Regions from separate parts of the Homo sapiens genome. Here all the other regions are linked to region 2. The links are contacts of gene promoters, found by promoter capture Hi-C in human tissues and cell types (Jung and others, 2019). All regions are on one chromosome and are shown on one strand. The core of a region is centred on a gene start or on the middle of the fragment in contact, and the rest is flanking DNA. Distances in the headings are between cores, read along the strand shown.

Region 1 (2,700 bases), core at 117-2,616, 350 kb after region 2:
TCTTAGGTTCTTGATGACTCATACTTTAGCCAGTTACTGGTCAATCCAGTTTACAAAGCAGTTCATCATGAGCCCAGATCAGCAGCTGGAGTTTCAGGAGTGTGCATTTTTTTTCTATTTATGGTAGTAGAGTGGGAAGAATCTTTCTAGTCACCTGAGAGGTGTTTCCTAAATGTATTTTGTATATACAGATTCAAGCCTCTTACCTGACTTATTCATAGTCTTTCTTTTTTTTTTTCTTTTTGAGACGGAGTCTTGCTCCGTCACCCAAGTTGGAGTGCAGTGGTGCGATCTTGGCTCACTGCAACCTCTGCCTCCTGGGTTAAGTGATTCTCCTGCCTCATCCTCCTGAGTAGCTGGGACTATAGGCTCATGCCACCATGCCCAGCTAATTTTTGTATTTTTAGTAGAGGCAGGGTTTTACCATGTTGGCCAGGATGTTCTCAATCTCTTGACCTCGTGATCCGCCCGCCTCGGCCTCCCAAAGTGCTGGGATTACAGGCGTGAGCCACTGCGCCCAGCACCTAACTATTCATATTCTTATGAAAATCTGAAGTTGGTCTCTTTCTTATATATGGATTAATAGCATCCTGGGGAAACGAGAGATGAACAACTTTGAATATACATCCCATGTCAGTGGACTAGAAAAGAATGGACCATGCCTTTCATGATAAAAGCAAGTACCTCAGAAGGAGAAGGCTGTAGGACTAAATTAGGAGTGATCCTGGGAAGTGCCCTGCTGACCAAGAAGAACTGGCTATTCCCATGAGAAATTTTGTTATAGACTCTGATTGGTGAAGCCTTGGAAATAATAGTGAAACTCATACCTCCACCTCAAACACAGCTCCTTAATTATTCTGGTTTTCTAAACAGAGCCAAGTAAGTATGCCAGCAGAACAAATCTACTATGTTTAAAGCTGACTACAATAGTGTATAAGTAAAGGACATGGACCCTGGAGTCAGTTCAAGTTAGGTTTATGACTTGGAGTAGATTATTTCCCTTGCCTCTGTTTTCTCATGTGTAAAATGGATAGTCCAGTGTGTCTCCATCATAGCATTTTGTGATGATTAAATAGAGTGATAATTCACGTAAAGCAATGTGCAAAATGTCTCGTGCATATTAAATGTTGGTTAATAGCAATGGCAGCAGCTATGTGGCCACAGTGCATGCTACTCTCCCATTTTAGTGTGTAAGAGTGAATAATCTCTTCTCGTGAAATGTTATAAGCTCAGACAGTAGAATCCATGAATTCAAAATATTAACAAAGCAAAACCTGGAAGGGCCTGTAGGATCAACTGGTGCTCTTCATTCATTTAAAGGTTCAGAAAATAAGGTCATGAAATCAGGGTTGGAGAAGGCCCTAGGTCTCCTGGTTCCCAGTTTTTCTTTTCTGCTACATGTGGCTGCCTTCTAAATCACAGAACCATGTGTCTCTTTTCATTCTTCTTCTTCTTTTTTTTTTTTTTTTTGAGACAGTCTTCTTCACTCAGGCCAGAGTGCAGTGGTGCGACCTTGGTTCACTGCAACCTCCGCCTCCCAGGTTCAAGCCATTCCCCTGCCTCACCCTCCTAAGTAGCTGGGATTGCAGGTGCCCGTCACCATGACTGGCTCATTTTTTGTATTTTTTTAGTAAAGACAAGGTTTCACCGTGTTGGCCAGGCTGATCTCGAACTCCTGACCTCAAGTGATCCACCCACCTTGCCCTCCCAAAGTGCTGGGATTGCAGACATGAGCCACCACTCCTGGCCACTCTCTTTTTTTAATCCCAAAGACTTCAAAACTACTTTTCATTCTTAATAAACCTTTTGCTTCAAAGGAAACGTTTTTTTCTCTTGACGTTTGTGTGTTTGAAATTTTCCTTATTAAATAGTTTAAAAATTATTAAATTTAAACTGAATTTAATTATGATTGTTTAAAGCAATTTGGAGTATGCCTGACTGTACATTTACTGTCTGTACAGTAACAGAACAAAGAAATTGGTAGCAGTGATTGCCTCTGGGAAGGGCACTGTGGTAGAAGTGACATTGATTATAAAGGAGAATTCTGGAGAATAGAGTAACTACTGGTTAGTAGAACAGGACAAGGAATAAAGTAGTAACAAGTATCTGTGGTTAACCAAAACTCAAGAACTGTATAGACTCAAAAATTTGGAAGTATCCCTTGTTATGTACACATTAGCACTCTCTACCCAAGCTACAGGAGCCAAATAGATTTGGTTAGGGAGGAATACTTTGGTTTCATTTGGGTGAGAACTGCTCCTGTGAATTGCATTTTACACGCCTGTCTCTGACTTATCAGTGGATGAAGTGATGAGCTCTGTTCCTACCTTGTACATGGGTTTTTGCAGCATAAAAGTGCTTAATTCTGGACTAAGCCTTGTTAGAAGACCAGGAGCTTAATTGAGCTTTTAGAAGAGAAGAAAAGGAAAAGTGTTTTAACAAGTCCATGTTTATGCTAGGTGGGATTGCATGTCTACAATTTACCTGTCAAAAAAGGGAAAGGGAAGGCTAGCTACACTTTTCTTTAAGGTGTGTGAAGTGTATTTATGTGAGTTACGGTATAATTTTTTTCTTTCTTTTTTTTTCAGTGACAGGGTTTTGCTGTGTTGCCCAGGCTGAAGTACAGTAGGTATTCACAGATGGGATTGTAGCACAGGACAGCCTTGAACTCCTGGGCTCAAGCCATCCTCCTGTTTCAGC
Region 2 (2,700 bases), core at 35-2,534:
AAAGATAAACTAGAAAAGACAGTTACCTACTAACAATATTAGTTTAAAACCTAGGGTAGCCAGAGGATACTGAGGAAAGCAAAGGAATGCTGCCTCTTCTCCTTGGAAGAACAGAACCTGGAAAGCTACCAGGGACGCTGGCACACAGCCCACAGAAAACTGCCCACCCGGCTCCGCAGCGGTCATCACTACGGGGCCATTATTCAGGCTTCTGCTCCGCGATAAAGTAAAAATGCTCCCCTCAAATGCAAAACCAGCCAGTCCACGCGGCTTTAATTACTCAAGCAAGGCCTGTGCGACTAAAAAGCAAACAGCTGTTTTGAAGTTGGTGACAACTCAGAAACGCACTTCAAGTCAAATATTCACTTCCAAAGAGGTAAATAAGGTACATTACAAACAGGCAAACTTTTTCCCAAAGGGAGGTGGTGCCAGGCCTGGCTTCCTAAAGTTGCCGGTTTTATTTCCTCGTAACCAGGAAAAATTCCACCATCGCATCGATCCCGCTTTAATAGGTATGCGGGTGTGCTGTGCAATCTAACTAAACGCAAAGCAGAGAATGCAGAACGCAAAACACCTAGCCGAGGAGAGACTGGCAAAATAAACCACCGGGGGAGGATCCCTGAGGGGCTGCTGCGAGCCCGGCGCGGCAGAGAGCACGGCAGCCACTACCGGCCGAGGCGGCTGTGCCCGGGCACTGCGGAGAGCGGCGTGAAGTTTCTGGAAAGAGCGCGGCGGGGGTGAGGCGAGCCGCAGAAGACCGCGGAAAGGAAGCGCACGGAGGAGCGGCTCGGCAGCCCCCGTGGGCCGGCCGGAGCGGGAAAGTGGGGTCCCGCGACCTCCGAGGTAAACAAAGAGCGGTGGGCAGCGGAGGCCAAGCCTGGCCCGCGCCGGCCGCCGCCAGACCGCTTGCCCTTAAGGCCCGAGGACCCGGGGACCGGGGGGCGGCAGCGCGGCCTACGGCCACTCACCAAGATGCGTTTGAAGAGGTTGCTCTCCTTGGGCGGCAGCAGCACGTTCGGCATCGTGGCCGGCAGGGAGGCTAGGTGGCCGGCAGGGAGGCTAGGTGCCCGGGCGCTCCGCTTCGCGGGGGTGGGCACCGGGACGAACCGCTGCTGAGAGTCGGGCTGCGGGCGATGGATTAGTTCATTGGTCTACAGTTGCAATTGGGCAGCCTGGCTGTTCGGCACGGGTGGCAATGGAGAAGGAAGGCGGTCTGAGCAGGACACGCTTCCCCTGGGCTCCGCTTTTTGGCCAGCGGCGGCGGCGGCGGTTCCCGCGCACTGCAAGATGGCAGCCAGGGTCCGCCTCCCGAGCCGGATCCTGTGCGCATGCGCGGAGCGCCCTTTGGCGAGGGGCTGCGGGTGACTACGGGGGCGTAGCGGGGACCAACCGCGTGGATTTGCCTTGTGCTGCGGCTCTCCTCGCCGCAATCTCGGCACCCCCTGGGGCTCAGGCGAGCTGTCACCAAAACCTTGGAGTCCCATGGGGTGGTGAGTCACCACCCTCATTCACCATTGCTCCTATGCATCAGAACGCCTCATAAGACTCCTACTTATTGTCTGCTTCTCCTTGCAATAAAGTAATAAATAAAAACGAGAATTTTCTTTTAAGTAGAAAAGAGAAGACACTGACTTGTATTGCACTCTTGATAAGCTTGTGGCGCAAGATAATGTTAGTTATGACTCTGAAGAGTCAGAGTTTTTTGCATTTCTCCCCATTTAGGAATTTAAGTGTCCGATGCAAAGTAGACTTTTGATGAAAGATGAACTTGTTTTCTTTCCTTTTCCTCCTTGATTCAGACTCTAAGTAGAAGCCTTCTCTTTCCAGGGCAAACCAAACAAACATTTACAATCTTTGTTTTTGTTTGGTTGGTTGGTTTTGAGATGGAGTATCGCTCTTGTCGCCCAGGCTGCAGTGCAGTGGCGCTATCTGGGCTCACTGCAACCTCCGCCTCCTGAGTTCAAAGGATTCTCCTGCCTCAGCCTCCCGAGTGGCTGGGATTACAGGCATGCGCCACCACACCCGGCTAATTTTGTATTTTTAGTAGAGACAGGCTTTCACCATGTTGGCCAGGATGGTCTTGATCTCTTGACCTCGTGATCCGCCCCCGCGTCAACCTCCGAAAGTGCTGGGATTACAGGCGTGAGCCACCACACCTGGCCGGAATTACGGTTTTATAAGGCCACTGGTCTTCTGAGTCTACCTACCCTTTCTCTTCAGATGGTTCCCCTTCCTGAAAGCCATATAATAATGGGAGAAACAGGCTTCAAATTCAGGATCTTCCAACTCTGGGATACTCTCTACAACAAATAAAAGGCAGCATATTGATGGTAATGTGTGAGTCTAGAAAGATACAACAGTGGCAAGAATAAACCATACATTCAGTGTAGGGTTAGTAGTAAGGTGTGTGTAAACATTAGGTACATAAGTTTATTTATACATGTGCTGAATCTTAATGGGTGCATATTTCTGAGACTATAAAGTAATTGATGAGTAACTGCATTTAGTCGGCTGTAATCAGAACTGGGCTGCCCTTTTTTATTTTCCTTTTTTTGAGACGATGTTTTGTTCTTGTTGCCGAGGCTGGAATGCAATGGCGCTATCTCAGCTCCCTGTAACCTCCGCCTCCCAGGTTCAAGCGATTCTCCTGCCTCAGCCTCCCAAGTAGCAGGGATGACAGGCATGCACCACCACACCTGG
Region 3 (2,700 bases), core at 31-2,530, 290 kb after region 2:
AGATTGATAGCTGTATGTAACAGATACCAGGAGATCTGTTGAGGGTAAAGAATGAGCTCACATCTGGTACAGCAGCTGCAATCGGAGTCACCACTTGGTTAAGCTTATGATAATCCACCGTGATTCTCCTAGATTCATCTGTCTTCTGCACAGGCCGAATAGGGTTTATTTATCAGCAGTATGTCTCTTTTGTTTGCTGTCTAGCAAGGGGCTAGAACAGTACCTGGCACATAGTAAGTGCTGAGTAAATATTTGTTAAATGAATGACAAAGAGTCCCTCAAATCAGTCACTAACTTGACATTGGGAAGTCACTTTGTACAGACCTCTTATCTCTATTTTTAAAATGAGACTGGATTGGATTCGTGTTTTAAGCTGTCCTACAGTGAAGACTTAAATGTATGGAGTGTCAAGGTTCCTTGAAGCCTTTATAAAAATTCAGCTGCTTAAGTAAAAAGTTTAGAAACCACTGGACTGGATAAAGTGTCTCTAAGGTCTCTTTCAGTTCTGCGATAACCAGTTCTCACAGTAATTGTAAGTGGGGCTGTTGAGGAGATCCTTCTGTAGAGGAGGCATTGAAATTGAGACTTGATGGATGGATGTTCATAGGCAGAGGTCGGGCATAGGATAGGAAATAAGGTAAGTGCTTTTCAGGCCCAGGGAACAGTGATAAGGAAGTGAGACAAATAGGAATGGAGCAATTCAGGAAATTTCCGTACAGCTGTCAGGGGCTAGGGAGTGAGGGAGAGTCAGGAAGATAGGGCTGGAAAAGTTAGGGAAATTAAAGTCAGATTGTGAAAGCCTTGAACGCCATAATAGTCTGGCTTTTAATTTTGCCTCTAAGAAATCAGTTATTTTATTTCTTTTTGTTTTTTGGGCCATAAGTGATAATCATTTCACTCTCAGAGTTGTTCTTTAGGAAGACTTCTCTAATAGCAGAGTGATGGGTGAATTTAAAGTAGGCAGTTGGTGGTAGAGAAAGATTCTGTCAGTTAGGAGGAGACTGTGATGTTACTTTTCCTGTGATATGATGAGTACTTTTTTACCTGAAGAGTAGCAAAGGAGGAGCTTAAGTTTCACTTTAAACTCAGTATAAAAATTAGATTTCCTCTCTGCAACATTTAGAGATTATTGAATAGTAGGTTAACAAATGTCTTTGAGTGGCTGCTGTGTGAAGAGCAGTAACTACAGTAGATGCTAGGGCTACATAGAAACACAGCAATGGTGGCCATGTGTGGTTGTTCATGCCTGTAATCCAAGCACATTGGGAGGCCGAGGCAGGCGGATCGCTTGAGCTCAGGAGTTTGAGACCAGCCTTGGCAACATGGCAAAACCCTGCCTCTACAAAAAAATACAAAAATTAGCCAGACATACAAAATACAAAATTAGCCAGAAATACAAAAAAATACAAAAAATAACCACATTGTGGTGCATGCCTGTAGTCCCAGCTACTCAGGAGGCTGAGGTGGGAGGATCGCCTGGGAGGCAGAAATTGCTTTACGCTGAGGTGCCAAGGTCCTGCCACTGCACTCCAGCCTGGGTGACAGAGCAAAACTCTGTCTCAAAAAACAAAAACAGCCACCCCCCCCAAAACAAACAAACAAACAAACAAAAACAGCAGTGGTTCTCATAAGCCTGACCTCCACCTGCACTACTGAATCCATTTCCAGGAGTTGGCATGTGTCTTCATAAAGCTCCTTCAGGGGTACATTCCTGGTTACAGGCTACTGAAGTAAAAGATACATTATTTTTAATATTGAATTTAAAATTTAATTATGAGAGATAAAATATGTCTATACAAACAACTTGAGATTGCAGTCAGCATATTACCTGGGAGCTTTATAAAGAATATAATCATACCATCAATTCTTGGTTATTTTTAATATCAGAGGAAACAGTAATACCCAGAATAATACCTGCAATAGAACCTTGAATTTGTCTATATCAAGTCATAGGGGCCAAGTCATGTCTTTAAAGATATTTCAATGTTTACGAAAATCCTGATATGCTACATTTTTCCCCTCAGTGAGCAGTTTTAGGAAAGTCACTCATTCATGTCTCTGAATTTCTGCTGAGTTTTGGGCCTTGTCCTAGGTGATGGGAATATAGTGCAGACAAAAGCCATGGCCCCTTTTGCCTTTGATAAGCCCCTGAAAATACATAGACTGTTGCCTAAGAGGCCTGCTTTTTGTGGGTGGTAAAAAGTACCACCTAGTTACCTGTCCGTGCAGAAGTGGGAAAGAGGATTTGGTTTAACAAAGCTAGTGATAGAGCATAGAAAATTAACTGTGTTTTACGTTTAAGCTCACATGTAGAAATTCTACACAATTCTTGGAACCTGGGATTATATTTTTGAGAGGCATTAACATCAACAAAATAAATTCTGCATGATTGAAAGATTCATAACACTCAATCTCAGTCTTCTGAATTTTATTTTTCTATTTAAATAGTGGGGAACATTGATTTTGGTCATTTGCCATTTTAATGGTGTGATCTTTTCTTTTTCCATCTCTGATAGTCATAGCATGTTAGCTCCCGACCTATGGGGCGGATTCAAACAAAGCTTTTTTTAGCCTAAGTTTCCTAGATATGGAAATTAGAGTATTCTGTATTTTTGTACTAGAAGTTTTGAGATTTGAGTTCAAAGGGAAGAGGTAACAGTAAAAAGGAAAAATGAGCCCTAGCACAATAAATTCTTTTTA

What was found. Contacts are between HindIII fragments. The study calls those that stand out against the background at their distance.
Region 1: a fragment that was not itself captured here is called in contact with the fragment with the promoter of NAA16 in region 2 in 1 of the 25 tissues and cell types used here (lymphoblastoid cells).
Region 3: a fragment that was not itself captured here is called in contact with the fragment with the promoter of NAA16 in region 2 in 1 of the 25 tissues and cell types used here (lymphoblastoid cells).

The regions. Positions count from the first base shown.
Region 1 is chr13:40,961,450-40,964,149 of GRCh38, reverse strand. All of the region lies in intron 2 of ELF1 (E74 like ETS transcription factor 1), which reads left to right. Among named protein-coding and RNA genes, the nearest start is that of ELF1, 57 kb to the left of the region's middle. The HindIII fragment of the contact is 6,199 bases long and covers 1-2,700 here.
Region 2 is chr13:41,309,851-41,312,550 of GRCh38, reverse strand. NAA16 (N-alpha-acetyltransferase 16, NatA auxiliary subunit) reads right to left here and starts at 1,284. Exons shown (of 20, transcript NM_024561.5): 1 at 969-1,284. The coding sequence starts at 1,022. It also overlaps a transcript of MTRF1 not described here. The HindIII fragment of the contact is 7,787 bases long and covers 1-2,700 here.
Region 3 is chr13:41,023,201-41,025,900 of GRCh38, reverse strand. It overlaps a transcript of ELF1 not described here. Among named protein-coding and RNA genes, the nearest start is that of ELF1, 5.2 kb to the right of the region's middle. The HindIII fragment of the contact is 4,987 bases long and covers 1-2,700 here.